Linked DNA regions of Homo sapiens: region 1 is linked to region 2. Evidence: promoter capture Hi-C in human tissues and cell types (Jung and others, 2019). All regions are on one chromosome and are shown on one strand. The core of a region is centred on a gene start or on the middle of the fragment in contact, and the rest is flanking DNA. Distances in the headings are between cores, read along the strand shown. Region 1 overlaps FPGT-TNNI3K (FPGT-TNNI3K readthrough). Region 2 holds the start of LRRIQ3 (leucine rich repeats and IQ motif containing 3).

Region 1 (3,694 bases), core at 649-3,148, 290 kb before region 2:
TTTAATTAGCTTTGCATGTTTTTAAATGGCAGGTTTCCTCTTCAAAATGAAAGAATAATAGTGAATACTAAAAACTATTAACTATCTCAGTGCCTTGTAATACACTGCACACTGTGTATAAAAAGAACTGCTAAGGCTAGATTTATAATGAACTTCACTTTTGAAAAGATCATCTCAGATTCAAAACTAAGATGATGATAGAAACCTCAGGACTATGCCTTACTTTAGGGTTTAAGGTAAGCTTTTTACCTTCAGACAGTGCCATTAAAAATATTGCCCATTATGAACCTCTGTGTCAGACGAGTTTGGTTAAAAAAAAGTTTATTCCAAATATATTTCAAGCTTTGTTCCAGTTGCAAGGGATATAAAAATGATTATTGGAAAAATTCTTGGAATTTTAGAAAATGTTGGCCTCTTCTGAGAAAATTGTCTTCTTTTGTCAGATCCTAAAACTATACACCCTATCATTTCTCCTTTTTTGAAACTTTCACTGCCAGGAGGTGGAGAGCCCAATTTAACATTCAGGTTCAGTAACCAAATAATTTAGATTCTTAGTAGAACAATTTCTCCCTTACTATCTAGCCCACCCCTGAGAACACTGCTTCCCTTATAAGCTGTTTCCTCTCACATACTCCTTGTATCTCTAGGTTGGTGGGGGCAGTGGGAGCAGTGGGAGCAGTGGAGTGAGCAAAACCCTGTGTCTTCCTTGCTGTCACTGCTACTTCCAAATGGTTTCTCCTCTAAACACCACCAGCTTGTCAGGCTATACCACCAGAGTCTAGCCACACCCCCTCATTCTTTGGGGATTTTAAAAACTGGCTTACTTCATACTCTCTAACACTACTCTTTGTACTTTTATTATCCATGCAAATGATCATTAAAATAGCCTGACCTCTGGGTTCCTTTGCCTACTCTTCTCCAATGAGCTTGTCCTCCAAACTCCTTTAGTCACTCAGCCCCTTAGTTATACCCTAGACCCTGTCATGACCAATGCCTCCACCCCTCCATGCTCTTTAACCTCTCAATCTTTATCAGACAACTCTCTGAGCTGTCCCTTTCTCTCTACCTCACTTCCTCTAGAAACCTGACTCCAACAAGCTTTGATCACACTGGTACTTGGAAGCCATTTTACCACTTAAAACAAAACAAAATAAAACAAGAGCTTTTTATTACGAGCAGTTCCAAATATGTCCTAAAGTAGATGCTCTTCTTTCTACCTACCTACCCATCTGCCTATCTTTTTCCCTACTTGTTTTTTTGCTCACTTCATCATCTTTTCGCTGTCACTCACTTTCCCTTTACCTTATATTTCATTTACATTTATCATTAGATTCACTTCCAACTATCACTCCCTTCCACACATCCTCAACTCCCTTGCTTCATCTTGCATTTGGTACAGTACTGAAAGAATCCTAAACTTTATTGAATCCATTCTGCCTGGTCTCACTTCAAAATCTTGACCCTCTAATCTCCCATGGACCGTCAGTACTATTCAGAGAGCCTATTACATATTTCTAGTCCATTCACTCTCTCACACTTCGGATGGCTATTTTGTACCTTTTCCTCTCTCCTAAACCTCTAGCTCCCACTACTACATTGACCTACTCACCTATGACCTACATAATTTGCCCTCACTTTTGTTTCTGTGGATGAAATTTGCCTGATTCTCAGGCCAACTCCTTCACTTGTGTGCTCCAGCAATAATTCTCTCATCCATTTTTTTTTGCATCGTTCATGTTCCTTCTGTATTGTTTAATCTCCACCAGCATACAGACATACTATACATTCTCCTATCTTAAAAACAAACAGCAAAATAAAACCCTTAACGTCCTCCTTCAAGCTACTGTTCCATTGCTGTTTACTTTACAGCAAAATTGTTCTAGAGTTATCCAAATTTGCGGTCTCTAATTCCCCTTCTCCCATTTGCAATCCATCCTAATCAAGCTTTCTCCTACAACACTGCTGAAACTGCCCTTGTCAAGGTTACAAAGATCTCATTGCTAAATTCAATGGTTACATCTCAGTGGTCATTTCACTTGGCATAGCATTAAATATAAGCAACAATTCCTTTGTCCCTGAAACATGTTTTTCAATTGGCTTTGAGGACACCATTTTCTTATTTTATTTTTTTCTGCGCTCATTGGCTTCTTCTTAGTCTCCTCTTTTGGTTTCATCTCTCCTCCTTATCTTTAAGCTTTTTATTGCCCCAAGACTCAGTCTTTGAGTCTCTTTACCCTTTAAAATTAATTTGTTGAGGAGTTAATTCAGTCTTATGTCTTTAAAAAACAACTTCCAGATTATTATCTCTAGCCCAGTACTTTCTCCTGAACTCTAAACTCATACATGCAATTAATTATATTTATAGCCTTTCCCATTTCAGTAAATGGAAACTCCATCCTTCTGCTTGCAGAGGCAAAAAAAAAAAAAGCAAAAAACAAAAAACACACACAAAAAAAGTGATGATGTTTGACTACTCTATCATACTTTACTCTTATATACCAGCAAATTATATTGATACTACCATTCAGTATCTGAATGATCAAGTAGCTTATATTAGATCAACCCTCCTACAGAAAACAACGAGAAACTCTGGACAAAATGTAAATGACAGCTACCTGAAGGCACTGGAAAGTTAATAAAAGCAAGTAGATCCTGGAGGGGAGTGAGTCACTTAGAAGAAAGGAACTAGTATATTTCCCACCTCTCTCTCTCTCTCTCTCTCTCTCTCTCTCTTTATAGCATTTAGCCTGAGGGTAGACCACTTCTGCATTTTAGGAAACAATTAAAATTCTGATGGTTTGCTTGTTTGAAGGAACAGAGGACAGAATTCAGGGCAACTGGAGTGTATTAGTTATTGTTTTATAACAAATTACCATAAACCTAGTGATTTAAAACAATGTTCATTTTTTATCTCAGTTTCCACTGGTCAGGAGTCCAGTATAGATTAGCCGGGTCCTTTGCTCAGAGTTTCACTAGGCTGAAATCAAGGAGTCAGCAGGCACTGTGATTCTCATCTGAGGCTCAAGGCCTCTTTTAAGCGCATTGGTTGTTGGCAGTACTGATTTCTTTGTGGTTGTATGACACATGTCTGTTTTCTTGCCATCTGTTGCCCAGAAATGACTCTCAAATTCTAGAGGATGCCTACAGCTGCTTGCCAAATAGGCAGTTCACAACATGGCTATTTGCTTTTTTCCTAACCGGCAAGGGCACATGCCTGACTTCCACTCTGTGACCAGCTGTAAAACTTATTCTGCTTTTGAAGGGCTCACCCAGTTAGGTCAGACCCACTTGGGATAATCTTCCTTTAGTCATATGATGAAACATAATCATGGGAGTAATATCTCATCATATTCACAGGTTCTGCCCACACTGAAGGACAGGGTATTCTACATGGCATGTACACCAGGGGACAGGAATCTTGCAGGTCATGTTAGAATCCTGCTTATCACAAATACGCAGTAGAGAATGAGAGGAGATCCTGGAAAAAGCCCTGGAGTCTGTGTGTAAATTCTACCTCAATCTCTGGTTTGCCCCTGAACCACACATCCATGAGGCCGACTAACCGGCCAGGTAGGACTAAAATAAATGAACTGAGATTAGATCTGCTGCCCCATGCAGGGCATTGTTCTTACTGTTTTCTCAGACTGGAATTACCTAATGCTTATTCTCTGCCCATGGAAATTCACTGTACTCT
Region 2 (3,717 bases), core at 592-3,091:
AATGGGTAAGAACAGTTGCTATTCCTTTTATCTTTCTAAAAAAAGTCAATTTATGTTCAAATTTTAAAGTTTGTAAAGCTGTGGGTAGAGATATGCAGCTTATACACTGTAAGTCACAGAAACCTTTTCTTCAATGATTATTCTGCTTAGGACCTATATTATAAAACTGACCATAAAGCGCGTACCAATTTTGGCTCCAGCAGGATCCACAAAAACGTGATATTGAACTCCAAGGGGTAACTCCTTTCTTTTCAGCTTTTCTGACAGCTGTTGGTTGTAAGCAAGTTCCTGTTTTTCATCAGCCGCTGTTATTGCAACTATGTCCCAGAATTCTCCACGTGCTACAAGTTTGCCTATTTGGAAAAAGCAAGGAAATGAAAACAAAAATTATCAGAATTTTCTAGTTGCCACAGGTTTGCCTATTGAGAAAGATGATAAAGAAGGTAATATCCATTATCATCTTCCAAAATGTATCTTTGGCTTTTGAAAGTTAGGGAATAATTAGTGGTGCATTAATACGATTCAAAATAGTTATAATGAAGACTGTTCACAAGTTCCTTTTTTTTCTTTTAGATCACTCCCTCCTTTTATGGTTTGCAATCCAATTTAATTATAAATTCTGAATGACATAATGTTTCTTGATTAAGAGAGCGACTTTTAACTTGCCAAAGACTATTGCCTCAATTCTTCAATAAGAAGAGGAGATAAACATAAACAAATCTCCAGCTTTGCAAATCAATTCTTATGTATCACGGACACTTGGTGTTAGGTGACTAAGAAAGACACAACCCAAAGATCCCTTCCCTCAATGTTGCTGTTTATAAATGTGGGTACTTTATTTTCTATTACTTTAAGATGAACCATGCAAACTTACATAGGCTGTTAGAATATAACATAAAATTCTGGATAACAGAAGGTCCCAACTCTCTGATGACATCTTTAAAAGACAGTGTGCACTTTTAGTAGACAGTTGGAATCTCTTTATTGATAAACAAAATGATTTAGCATTTTAATTAGTTAACAAACAGAACTTGTCAGCTAGAATCTAATAGTCCTGAAAGTTTTACTGTTATCCAAGAATTAGTCCCAGTATTTTTTAAGCAGTCACTGCAACACAAATATAATCACTTTTATTAGACAGGTGTACAGGGATTAAGTGTCATAGCCAATTTTTTGATAACAAATTTCTTCCTTTTAATTTTTAATCCATAATTCCTCCATGTTCTGTTACTCCCTCAACAAACGGTTACATTACAGAAGTAGATGAACGTAATGTAAAGCGTGAAGTAGATAGGGGGCTGGCATCTACTCATAAAGTTCAAAATACTGTGCTTCGTATCTTTTAGATTTATTTAAAGCAACTTTTATTAATGAGCTAATCAATGCATAACTTCACTAGTAAGATTTTCTTCTTCTTCCTCCGCCCTCATTTTTAATATCTATACTACTAAGAATAAAGTAAGCAACAAGCATGTCAAGCAGGGACAGTGAAAAGAATAAAAAACTCAAAAGGATTATTAGCTAGCTACTCCTGGGGAGCGTCATAGGCCTACAGATGAGAAGTAAACGGGAAGTGACAGTCCAGCAAACCTCCTGGCACGTAAAAGCACCCTCCCTCTGCATTGCCCAGGAGAACTCCGGTGCCTTCTCTGGTACCTCTTAGCTCGGAAAACCTCCGCAATTTTCGCTGGGTGGCTTCTCGCAGCGATACTTCCGGAGGGTCCCTAGCAGCTGCCATAGCCCCACCTTCCCTGAGACCGCGCCGCACAGCACGCATGCGCCCTGGGGTGCGCCTCCGCCCGGTTGTTTCTGACCCGCCCCCTCCGTGCGTCGCCCACGTAACCACGCCCCCGGAGCGCCTTGGCTGGCGCCCGGAAAACCATGATGTGGAGAACTTGGATGTTGTCTTGTTTCTCTAGCAACGGTCTCAGGAGCAGATGGCCGCCCAGCGATTTGTCTGACTGTGTTGGGGCTGGGCCACTTGTCTCCAACTCATAAGGGCTTGCAGCCCAGTTGACCCGGTGAGTGGTTCAGTTTGGGTGACAAAATTGTTAGAACCGACCCGCTAAGGATAAGGCGAAACTACATTCTAGCTTCCCAGCTTTCACATCAAAGGCGGTTCGTCCTAACTGGTGGTTTGTTTCAGCCTGGAGCAGTTCCCCAGGATAGCCTGATAGAAGATCTCCGCCATCTCTCCTTTCCCCCGCCACCCCGGGCCATCTGCCCCCAACCCTGGGTCATGATACATACACAGTCTGAATATTTAAAATCTCTGCTCTTTCTAGGAACCTTAAGTTTGTGGTTCCTAGAGAGTGAGCCACCCCACCCCTCTGTTTTTTCTTAGTAGGCTACACACGACAGCCTCTCAAATAGTGTCTTTGAAAGTTGTATAAAATTCAGTCCGCAACCAGGCTCCAAATATTTTTGGTATTTTGGTTTCTTCTCTGGCATTCTTTTGTATATGCAGATTAATCTAGAATGTTCAATAACACTCTTAGGAATAAGTCAGCCTTTTTAGGTGTTTTTTTGGGTAGCTATATAAAGGTGTTCCTGTTATAGAACACGAGGTTTCTTGGTTTTACAGACCACTTCATCTTTACACAGAAGAAAACTGAATCAGAGAATAGTGAGTTAGTCAAGGTATCACAATTAGTAAGTAATAAAAGATTTAAGAAATATATTTCAATCCCAAACCCAGAACTTGTGGTATTTCACCATACCGTTTGATTTTTTGAGACGATTTCTCTGTATCAACGTCTTCATTAGGTACGTAGACATTCAGGGCACCATAAACTCTTGTCATAAATTTACTTAGTTTTTCTTCTCAGACTTGTTATACAATCGTGTTCTAATAGTGGAAACATTTGGATAAAATGGCAGATTAGATTACTCTTTCATAGTTTTACATTTAAAACTTCATTAATTAAAAAAACAGTATCTTATTGAAGAACATTTAGAAAATACAGAGACTTGAGTGAAAGTAACCAAAGGAGAAAGTAGCGAGAGAAGGTCAGAGAGAGAACAAAGGGCCATAGGAAGAATTTTGGTTTTTACTCTTGAGGGAAACAAAGCCATTGCAGGGTTTTGAAGTGACTTGGCTTATGTTTAAAGAGATCACTCGGAGATAGGAGAATAGATTATAATGGGGGATGAGGCAATGATAGAAGCAGGGAGACTTCTTTGGAGGTTACTGCAATATTGCAGGTGAGAGCTGGTGAAGGCTTGACCAGGATGGTAGCAGTGGGAATGGTGAGAAGTTGGTCAGATTCTGGATATATTTTTAAGACAAAAACAATAAAATGTGCTGATGGAATTAATGGGTGTGGACTGTAAGAGAAAAAGAGGAGTCAAAATGACTGCCTTGGGATGGATTGGCCATCAATTAAGATGGGTAAGTTTCCGACTGAGGAAGGTTTTTGGGGTAATAGGGTCCAGAATTTGATTTTGGACATGTGGAATAAAGAGACATGTGTATGCAGTGAATATGTAATGGAAGTTTGTGTGTGTATGTGTCTGTATGCATTATACATACGAGTCTAGAATTCAGGAGAGAGGTCTGGGCTAGAGATACAATTTTGGGAATTGTCAGCAAGAAGATAGAATTAATTTTAACTGTGGAACTAAGTGAGGTCCCAAGGGAGTGAAGGTCAGCAGAGCCTATATGTTTGGGGTCTGTATATTCTAATAAGGTGAAATAAAGAAGGAAGAAGTAACCAA

Evidence for each region. The method cuts DNA at HindIII sites, captures the fragments that hold promoters and counts their contacts. A contact is called where the count stands out against the background at its distance.
Region 1: a fragment that was not itself captured here is called in contact with the fragment with the promoter of LRRIQ3 in region 2 in 1 of the 25 tissues and cell types used here (dorsolateral prefrontal cortex).

The regions. Positions count from the first base shown.
Region 1 is chr1:74,485,241-74,488,934 of GRCh38, reverse strand. The region is part of intron 23 of FPGT-TNNI3K (FPGT-TNNI3K readthrough); the gene reads right to left. The region is part of intron 21 of TNNI3K (TNNI3 interacting kinase); the gene reads right to left. All of the region lies in intron 1 of LRRC53 (leucine rich repeat containing 53), which reads left to right. Among named protein-coding and RNA genes, the nearest start is that of LRRC53, 26 kb to the left of the region's middle. The HindIII fragment of the contact is 3,211 bases long and covers 293-3,503 here.
Region 2 is chr1:74,196,300-74,200,016 of GRCh38, reverse strand. LRRIQ3 (leucine rich repeats and IQ motif containing 3) reads left to right here and starts at 1,841. Exons shown (of 8, transcript NM_001105659.2): 1 at 1,841-2,021. It overlaps FPGT-TNNI3K (FPGT-TNNI3K readthrough), which reads right to left and starts at 1,775. Exons shown (of 27, transcript NM_001112808.3): 1 at 1,657-1,775; 2 at 186-353. The coding sequence starts at 1,738. It overlaps FPGT (fucose-1-phosphate guanylyltransferase), which reads right to left and starts at 1,775. Exons shown (of 4, transcript NM_003838.5): 1 at 1,657-1,775; 2 at 186-353. The coding sequence starts at 1,738. RefSeq lists a silencer at 1,838-1,937. The HindIII fragment of the contact is 10,329 bases long and covers 1-3,717 here.